Regions from separate parts of the Homo sapiens genome. Here all the other regions are linked to region 1. The links are contacts of gene promoters, found by promoter capture Hi-C in human tissues and cell types (Jung and others, 2019). All regions are on one chromosome and are shown on one strand. Each heading gives the region's core, a stretch centred on a gene start or on the middle of the fragment in contact. The rest is flanking DNA. Distances are from core to core; before and after follow the strand shown.

Region 1 (3,538 bases), core at 840-3,339:
GAAAACTACGGGAGGTGGACAAATGGTGAACAACTCTATGTCACGGTGAAGGATTTGTAAAATTGTTGCCCTTCAGTAAGATGGGCAGAGAAAAAGGCAACTACTGAACTCTGGGACTTGAAAAAGATCATATCAGTATAATGTTGAGATTAACCTGTGTTTCTTTTGCTTGAATATGTTGAGACACTTATAGAAAAGAGTGTGGTTAAAAACAAACAAACAAACAAACTGGCCAGCAGAATTTAGAGCACACTTTGGGTTGAAGCTGGGGAAAGTATTATTAGACCCAATAGTTGGTAACAAGTTCTCAAAGTAAGTCATAACCTGGGCCAAAGATCAAATTCAGAGTGGCGCTAATAAAATATGGCCTTAAGAATAATGCTGAAGTCAAGGTGATCTCAATGATTTAAATGTTAACAAGTGGCTGGGCGCGGTGGCTCACGCCTGTAATCCCAGCACTTTGGGAGGCCGAGGCAGGCGGATCACAAGGTCAGGAGATCCAGAACATCCTGGCTAACATGGTGAAACCCCGTCTCCACTGAAAAATACAAAAAATTAGCCAGGCGTGGTGGCGGGCGCCTGTAGTCCCAGCTACTCAGGAGGCTGAGGCAGGAGAATGGCGTGAACTCGGGAGGTGGAGGTTGCACTTCAGCCTGGGCGACAGAGCGAGACTCCGTCTAAAAAAAAAAAAAAGACTAGTGGGAGTGGCTTCTTGGGCATGGAGAGCACCTGAATCAGATTCTTGAGAAGCCCATAAAGCTTTTAAGGGACTTGTAGTGAACAAAGCACCACCAGCTGCCAAAATGTGGACAGAACAGTTTAGAGTGAAAAAAGGTCTGTGGGCTCACAATTTGCTAATGACAGGAAGGAGGTTGAGAAAGTTTCTCAAAGGGCACATTCTTCAACATGGCCAAGAAGGTGCTGGAAAAGGAGGGACACCCAAGAGGGCAGAGGCAAGAGCTGTGCTGAGATACAGCCTGGGGAGATACTCCCAGGAAGCAGAACTCGGGCCTGGTTAAGACTTCTTATTCTTGTAGGGCCTGAAAACATCTTCCAGTAGGATTTCAGAATTGCTTTGGACCAGTGATTACTGTGTCTCCTCCTCTTCTCATTTTCACATGCAAGTATTTATTGTGGTTATCTGGTCCCGGCTCACCATCATATATTGCGTGCACGGGAGAGAAAATTAATCTTTTTAGTTTGTAAGTCTCTGGATCAAGAGGAGCTGCACCGGACAAGCCAATCTAAAACAGACCGTGAGATCCTAGATTTTGTGCCTGATGCTGGGATTGTAAGAGGCTTTTGGGGATCTTGGGATGAACACTGGAAACTAACCATAGTTTGGGTTGAAAATATCACTACAGTTCGGAGATTTTAAGGCATCTGTGGCTTGTCTAAGTGCAAAGATTCAGTAGGCTTACTTCTAGCGACCTCAGACTTGACGCCACCCGAGACACCCTCACCCATGACCACATCTTGGACATTTTTTTTTTTTTTGAGAGAGAGTCTCGCTCTGTCGCCCTGGCTGGAGTGCAGCGGGGGCGATCTCGACTCACTGCAACCTCCGCCTCCCGGGTTCAGGCAATTCTTCTGTCTCAGCCTCCCAAGTAGTTGGGGCTACAGTCGCACGCCACCACGCCCAACAAATTTTTGTACTTTTAGTAGAAACGGGGTTTCACCATATTGGTCAGGCTGCTCTCGAACTGCTGACTTCATGTGAGCCACGGCCCCCGGTTCATTCACTTCTTGAAGGATCATTTACCAGGCATCTAGTAGCCATCATCAGGTCCTACGTCTCTCCAGCTACCGCGGAAAAAGATCCAGAACCAGCCCTACCCCGTCTAGAGGAAAGGATGAACATTAGGCAAGTACTTGGAATCGTGCGAAGTGCACTCCATCAGATCACCTTGGTGAGTGAACTGCCAAACCCGAAACACCGAAGGCCACCAGCCACAACCCGGAGGGCGGTCACAGCACCTTTCACGCATGCTCAAGGCAGGCTCGTCCTTGAGCATGCGCGGTACGTGGGGTATACGTCATCTCTCGGCGTCTGCGCCTGGCGTCACCGACCGGTGCGGACAGGAAGAGGCTCTGGGCTGGCACATGTGTATGGCGGTGAGGCGGGCGGGTACATGGCGGGCTCTGTGGGACTGGCGTTGTGCGGGCAGACGTTGGTGGTGCGGGGCGGCAGCCGATTCCTGGCCACCTCCATAGCAAGCAGGTGAGGGGGCCTTGGTCTTGGAACAGGGAGACCAGGCTGCGGGCGCGCGTCGGGTCCTGGCGACCCCGCTTCTCCCGCACCGCCTGGTCGCACCCACTCTGGGGTGACCCCGGGGAACTCCGCTCCAGCCCACGAGTCCTCCGCCGCAGTCTCGGCCTGGCCGCGTCTCTGCGCCTGGAGGGTCCGCTTTCGCCGTCCGCTCTCGGCGTCCGCTCCCCGGCTCCGGCGCGCTCCTTGCACTAGATGGCTGGTCTGCGGTGTTCTTGCCCGGTTAGCGCCGCCGGGTCGCTTCCGGTCTCCGCGGCGCCGGCGGGGACCGGGTAGGTAGAGCACGTGGGGCGACGCTGACCAGTCAGCAAGGCCCGGCCGAACACGCTCTGCAGAACTGGGAAGAAGCGGGTCTCGGGTCTCCCTGGTGAGAAGGGAGGGGCTTACTCACTGCGAGCTCACTGACCTCCAAGCGCGCTCCCTCTTTTTGCAGGGTTGTCTGTTCCCTCTTCCCGGCCTGCATCCACTCACCTGGCCTTAATTGCTCCTTAGGGCTCCAAGTCATCTCCGACACTTACCCAACCCAAGGGTGCACGTGGAGCTCGCAGTGCGCACCTCCCTAGTGGCCCTTCGCACGGCTCGGGTTTTGCTTTCCGTAATTTTATTCTCCTTCCTTAGTGTATCGCCAGTGCTAGGACGACGCAGGGGATTTTTAACTTAGTAAATGTTTGTTGATGGAACAGTCCTAACTCAGGACTCTCGGAGCAATTAGTAGTGCTGTCAGTTTCAGCCCCTCGTTTCCTTTCCCAGGTTATTTGTGATTTCATATTTGAAACGGACGACGTGTCTGTCAGATATACTGTATATTTTTTGTTCGTTTGGTTTTAGAAAGCCAATTCGATGTTAAGTTAGGTCTCACAAAAATTGTACTCAGAAACCCGTCACATATCCCAGATGATTTTGTTTTAGAGACTCACGGTCTAATATCTGCCAGAGTGAGCTGTGGATATATTAGACATGATTTGCTTACCTTCAGTCTTTGCATTTTGAGGAAATTCTAGTGGCTGGTGGAGTTTCTGACTTGGAAGACAAGTCCACGGTTCCATATGGAAAGTTTTTTGGTGCACTCGCTTTAAAGGCTATAAATATGTACAAGATACGTGCCAGGGGGTGAGGATGGGATAAACCGAAGTTTAGGTTCAGTATGGAAAATGGGTGATTCTTATGTTGGTAAGTGCCTGGGGTCATGGGAACACTTTCAGGTAGGTGAGATATGTTTCTAAATAGTAATGGCTCTTTGAAATTTGTATACAGAATCCCACTGAACGC
Region 2 (3,179 bases), core at 280-2,779, 280 kb after region 1:
CCACTTCCTAAACACACTGTGTGTGCTCACCTCCCAAGGGTAAGGGGGGCATGTGCATGCGGGCAGCCCATCCTAAGGGAAGAACCATGGGAAAGGGGCCAGCCTGGAAAGTCCTAGGATCATGGTTAACCTAGGTCGACCACTGCACTCGACCTTCCACTTGGGTCTCTCCCAAGTGTGTTTTCTTTCTTTCCTGTTCTTTTTTTTTTGAGACGGAGTCCCACTCTGTCGCCCAGGCTGGAGTGCAGTGGTGCGATCTCGGCTCACTGCAAGCTCCGCCTCCCGGGTTCACGCCATTCTCCTGCCTCAGCCTCCCGAGTAGCTGGGACTACAGGCGCCCACCACCACGCCCGGCTAATTTTTGTATTTTTAGTAGAGACGGGGTTTCACTGTGTTAGCCAGGAAGGTCTCGATCTCCTGACCTCGTGATCCACCCGCCTCGGCCTCCCAAAGTGCTGGGATTACAGGCGTGAGCCACAACACCCGGCCTCTTTCCTGTTCTAAAGCCTTTTGAAAGAAACTTCCATTCCTCTTCTGAAAGTTGCCTTGGTGTCTTTTTTTGCCTTATGCCCCTCAGTCTAATTCTTTCTTCTGAGGAGGCAAGAATTGAGGTTGCTGCAGACCCATAAGGATTCACTGCCAATAACTCGGATACCTCCACTGGTAACATATGTGGTACCATGAGACTCAGATATTTTCCACCCCTAATAGGACCACAGCATACAAATGAAAAGTTGATAGGATTATGTAAGTTGAAATGTTTAAACAGGATTTATGCAAGCTGTTGTGACTCAGTTTTACTCTTAAGGAGCTGAAGGATAGGGGTGGTGGTCTTCAATGTATCTCTATTTAATTTACCAGGCTGGCCTCTGCAGAAATAGGAGACTCCTGGAGGAAGACAGTGGACTTCAGCAAGCTGCACCAAGGAGAATCCACAGCGGCAGCTGCCCTGCCAGGCGCGGGATCTCGGTCAAGGTGGATCAACACAGCCTCAGGTGTGTGCTCTGCCCCACTGAGATGGCAAGTGCATTCTTTTCTATTCCTACGAGGAAAGAGCATCCGAAAGAGCCTGCCTTCACATAGGATGAATAACAGTGGACCTTGGCTTTGCCTCAGTGTTATGTGCTAATAAACCATGTATTCTATGCCCTAAGGAAGCCCAGAGAGAACTGGACAAGCTGGATATCCCAAAGAGCATGGCACTGGCCCACCACATTGATTACATTGCGCTGGCCGGGTGCTAACCAAGAAGCAGCTAACACACTGGGAGTCTTGGTAAGATGCCTGAGTGCCTGCAGCTGGCAGACAAATCCTACAAAGATTCTGGGAACTGCCACTAATAACACTCTTGGTGGGGAGGTCCCATATCCCATAACCAGGAGCATACTGGGCCTCCTGTCCACAGCAAAGAGCCAATTACTGCATCTTGCATCTCCCATGACCAAGAGAGACAGACAATGCCAGTACGCCTTCTGGAGGCAGCACGTTCCACACACATGAAGACTACTCCAGCCTATGTACCATTGATAGGAGAAGCTGTCGGCCTTCCCTGAGCCTGCAGCAGGTCGAGGCTGCAGTGCTGGCAGCCCTGTGACTCAGGCCCTGCAGCTGGTCGGACCCTGTGTTATGAGAGGTATCAGACGTGGGAAAGCAATGCTGTGTGTTTATGGCAAACCACTATGCCAGAATCACAGTGCAGGCCCCTGGGATTCAGAAACAAAGCCGTGCCATCTGCGGCAGAGGATTCTGCGAAAAATTCTGAAAAGTCCCTGTTGATGTGCTCCTGGGGCCTGGGGTGATGGAATACCTGATTGTGCATGTGGAACTGCTCAGATGAGCTGGATTCTGTCTCACCCCTGGGTCATGAGGTTGGGGACTCAGAAATAACCCATCACAGGTGGGAGTGTGCGTGTGGCAGCAGCAGAAGCAGGAGCAGGAGGCCAAGCAGCGGCAGCTGCCCAGTACCCCCCCCCACCCTCCACAGCAGTCCCCACAGCCCCAGTGGAGGAACCTTCTGGTGAACTGAGGAGGGAGGGACAAGCCCGGCCTCAGTTCATGGAGGTGTCTGCTCTGCCTGTGGGGCCAGCCCAAATCGCCTGGCTGCCATACTCCAGTCTCAGCAAGCTGCCCTTTAAAGAGGGTGATATGGTTTGGCTCTGTGTCCCCACCCAAATCTCATCTTGAACTGTAATCCCCAGGTGATGAGGGTGAGACCTGATGGGAAGTGATTGGATCATGGGGGCTGTTTTCCCCATGCTGTTCTCGTGATAGTGAAGGAGTTCTCATGAGATCTGATGGTTTTATAAGTGTCTGGCAATTCCCCTGCTTGCACTTGTCTTTCTCACCCACCACCACGTAAGACGTGCCTGCTTCCCCTTCCGCCATGATTGTAAGTTTCCTGAGGCGTCCCCAGCCATGCAGAACTGTGAGTCAATGAAACCTCTTTTCTTTATAAATTACCCAGTCTTGGGTAGTATCTTTATAGCAATGTGAGAACGGACTAACACAGAGGGTGATGAGGGAACATTCTCCCAGTGGTCATCCCCTCTGTGTAAGTGGCTGTGAGGTTAGAAGATCTCTGAACCCATGGGCAATGGCCAACGACTTTGCCGGCTGAACCCAGAATGGGAGCGATGTGGAGAGTGGGGATGGGCAGTCAGGGATGAGGCATGGGTTGGACGTGGGGGAGTGGGCAGGAGGTGCAAAGATCTGTGTGTAACAGGCAGGTGCTCCCAGAGAGCACCTGCCGCAGAGGAGGCCTGAACGACCCCTAGGGAAGGTCAGGCATGGCTGTTTGGGCCAAGCGTGATGGGATGGTTCTCTCTCTCCATGGGGGCTCAAGGCTGCCGTCTCTCTCCCTGTGCCATCCTCTGCTGCCTCCTTTCCATGACCCTTGACCCCAAGGGAACTTCACGATGAGCCTCCTGCCTGCTAGGGTCTGAATCTGAGTCTGTTTCCTGGGGACCCGCCTACCACACTGCCACCCTCCCAGAGTAGAGAAACCAGAAGTAACTGACCAGTGCTGACATCACATGGCCATCCCAAGGTCAAGCTTCTTCCCCTCACGTATGAAGAACATTCTCTCTCTCCCACCTGAAGTTCCCGCCAGTCCTACCTGAAGTTCCCACCAGTCCTGCCGGAAGTGCTACGGCTGCCCTGGCGATCTAGGTGGTCTCTCC
Region 3 (3,139 bases), core at 620-3,119, 320 kb after region 1:
TGATCTGCCTGCCTCGGCCTCCCAAAGTGCTGGGATTATAGGCGTGAGCCACTGCGCCCAGCCTAAAGGCACTTTAAAGGGAAAGAGAATCCAGCCGGGCTCGCGAAGGCCACGGCGCAGCACTCAGTGCCAGCGCCTCCCATGGGCTCACGCTCAAGGCCTGTGGGAGGGCAAGTGCACTGGGGAGGGGCCGGGCCACAGGGGCCAGGTGGCACAGTAGTCAGGGCCTCAGTTCCCCAACCTGTCACATGGGGGCAGGCCCAGGGTGCCAGGCTTTCCGTTTTTCCAGTGAAGGCAGGGAGCCCCATTTTTCTATGAACCTGAATTTCTAAATGGAGAAAACGAATTTCAAAAAAAATTTAAACATGGTATGAGGCGAACAAATATCACTGCAGCCATATTCAGTCCTGAAGCTAGCACTGTGCAGCGTCTAGCTTTGGCTATGGATTCGAATCCCCGGGTTCTACAACCACAGATGTCTTTTTAAGCTTAATCATCAACCGACCAGACTTCCCACAGCCAGCACAGCAGCCCTTTCTGAAACTCCTCCTGGGCACGTTTACTTACTGGAATTTTCAAGGCCCCTGTGAAGCTGATGGCGGCCGTGCCACTCCCACCGTCCCCGGGGAGAATGACGACGTGGTTCGGGTGGATGGAGCCCTTCCCATCTGAGAGCAGCAGGCACTGCATCTCTGGGTCCTGGAGGCAAATCCATTGGGAACAAAAAGGAAAGGTGTTACCAGCCGGGCAGTCTGGGTGAAGTGGGGCCAGGCTTCCTAATGACGAGGGTGCCTGGCGGCTCTCTCTTCCACTGCCTTGGAGACATCCTGGGTGACATTCCCACCTGGCCACTGTGTTAGAATGATTAGCATTCATGCATTTTCATGAACGGCTAGGTACACAGATCCTCTGATCCAGAAATTCTAGGAATCTATTGGCAAAAAATAATTTGAAAAGTAAAAAGATACTTATAAAGTAAAATGGATGTCACATCATCATTGAGAAAAAATAGAAAATTCAAATACATCCATACGAATGACATCTTGTAAAAAAAAGGTTGGGAGATTTTAATGACGGAAAATGCTTATGACACATTAAATAACACATCATTCAAAACTGCATGTCATTATAACCTCAAAGAATGTTTAAATATCTACGTATGTAACTAGGCAACTATAGGATCTATTTCTAGAAAGAAAGAAGCTAAAATCTAAGCCAACAATGGTTGTCAGCGAGTGGTGGAATTATGTGTAATTTTTATCGAAATGCTAATAAGAAATTCTTTACATGATCCTGCATTTTTTAGGAGTTCACAATGGCCATATATGACCAGAAATAACATTATTTTAAAATACACCAACATTATTTTAAAATACACCTATTCTGATATTTATGAATTCTGATTGTCTAGACGTTCCTAAAGGACAAAGTGTACATTCATTAAAGCAAAGAAGAGTGATTCCCCAACCTAGAGTGGGATTTCAAGTCAGAGCAAGGATAACATAAAAATAATCTTAGCCTGGGCCACACAGTAAGACCTAAAAAAAAATAGTGGAATGTGGTGGTATGCGCTTGTAGTCCTAGCTGCTCTGGAGGCTGAGGCAGGAGGATCACCTGAGCCCAGGAGGTGGAGGCTGCAGTGAGCTGTGATTGTGCGGCTGTCCTTCAGCCCGGGCAAGACCCTGTCTCAAAAAAGAATGAAAATAAAATAAAAATATTCTTCATGAGTGAGCTATGAGGTTCAAGGTCTTACAAAGAAATGCTTCTAGGTATCTCAGACCTTTCACAAAATCAAACAGGCTTTGTGGTACTTATCTCACTATAACCTGTTATAAGTTGGACTAAAAATGTAGTTTAATTAAAAAAAAAAAAGAAAATGGTAATGTATTCCACATTCCCCTGCCCCTTGATATTTAGAATATTTAGAATTCTCTTCCAGTGGAAAACAGACATTTGGAAACCGGGTGGCAGGTGGCACCGAGTGCAGCCCAGTGTGGGCACCCAGTGGGTGGCCTTGGGGGCAGCCCAGCGTCTACGTGCCCCAGGAAGCCCGGCTTCACAGCTAGGACTCTGGCATGGAGAGCGGGTCTCTGATGAAGATATTCACATGTGGCCACATAGTCAGGTGCTCTGGAATGAAGATGACAAGGCTGAGTGCAGATGCCTAACATGCTCCCGATGATAATCCCATCACGGCACGTGAAAGCAAAGAATGGCGACTTGAGTTTCTGAATAAACTTTTCTCTCATGAATTCTGCTAATCGTCCAGTTTAGAAAACTACATCAGTAATGCTCTACTGTGGCTAAGCACTGGAATCTCCTCGGGGGGCTTTGAGAAGCCTCGAATTCCCCCAGCCCCACGGAAGCAGTCCCTGGGGCAGCCCCAGGCGAGTTCCACTCATAGCAAGCTGAGGGCTACAGGACTTCACAGGCCGTTCCGCAGGAAACAGGCTCAGCAGTGGGTGAAATGCAGCCAGCTGGAGAAAAGTCAAGCGGAACGAGGCCGCTTAGCCAGGAGAAGCGCACCCTCTGACCCGCAGAGAAGTGACCGCAGGTCAACACAGAAGACCTACTTGGCCTCAGGTAGGACCCAGATGCCCAAAGGCCGCCCACGGCCCTTGCAGGATTTGTAAAGTGCTTCAGGGTCCACTTGCTGGGCTGGTTTAAAGCCACAGACACAGACCCTCTGCTCCTTATCTAAGCAGCAAGGAGCCCCCGAGACAGACAGAAGGCTCTGTTTCTGCTGAGAACGGGCCCTGTGCTCACAGCCACTCATCTTAAACAGGACTTGTAGCCACCATACCTGAGTTGTTTGCTCCTGGAGGAGATGGGAAAGAGTGTGGGGCCATGGCTGGTTTTCCAAAACAAACAGGGGGCTGCTGCTGCCTCCTCCTTACATAGCAAACAAGAAGCCACTGGGTGGACCAAGACAAGGCTGGAGGCCAAGAGGCACCTCTGCCTCTAAACAAGCAGTTTCCAGTCTGTGTCCCAAGAGCCCCAAATGGGATCTGTGGAGCCCCCGGTGGGTGTGGGGGCTTCTGTGGCCAGTGCACTCCACGCTTAGGGCTTACACTTTCAAAGAGAAAAGGGTTCCCTCTACTAAAATGCCCCCACACACAACAAAAATACACACAGACGC

What was found. Contacts are between HindIII fragments. The study calls those that stand out against the background at their distance.
Region 2: a fragment that was not itself captured here is called in contact with the fragment with the promoter of WDR4 in region 1 in 4 of the 25 tissues and cell types used here (bladder, lymphoblastoid cells, mesenchymal stem cells and 1 more).
Region 3: a fragment that was not itself captured here is called in contact with the fragment with the promoter of WDR4 in region 1 in 1 of the 25 tissues and cell types used here (spleen).

The regions. Positions count from the first base shown.
Region 1 is chr21:42,878,090-42,881,627 of GRCh38, reverse strand. WDR4 (WDR4 tRNA N7-guanosine methyltransferase non-catalytic subunit) reads left to right here and starts at 2,089. Exons shown (of 11, transcript NM_018669.6): 1 at 2,089-2,221. The coding sequence starts at 2,133. It overlaps LOC105372817 (a long non-coding RNA gene), which reads right to left and starts at 1,916. Exons shown (of 4, transcript XR_937765.3): 1 at 1,873-1,916. RefSeq lists enhancers at 1,837-2,186, 2,257-2,366, 2,397-2,446, 2,099-3,063, 3,064-3,538. The HindIII fragment of the contact is 11,595 bases long and covers 1-3,538 here.
Region 2 is chr21:42,598,531-42,601,709 of GRCh38, reverse strand. LINC01671 (long intergenic non-protein coding RNA 1671) reads left to right here. Exons shown (of 2, transcript NR_131192.1): 2 at 862-2,306. Among named protein-coding and RNA genes, the nearest start is that of LINC01671, 15 kb to the left of the region's middle. The HindIII fragment of the contact is 9,872 bases long and covers 1-3,179 here.
Region 3 is chr21:42,556,518-42,559,656 of GRCh38, reverse strand. SLC37A1 (solute carrier family 37 member 1) reads right to left here. Exons shown (of 20, transcript NM_001320537.2): 11 at 568-699. Among named protein-coding and RNA genes, the nearest start is that of SLC37A1, 44 kb to the right of the region's middle. The HindIII fragment of the contact is 7,302 bases long and covers 1-3,139 here.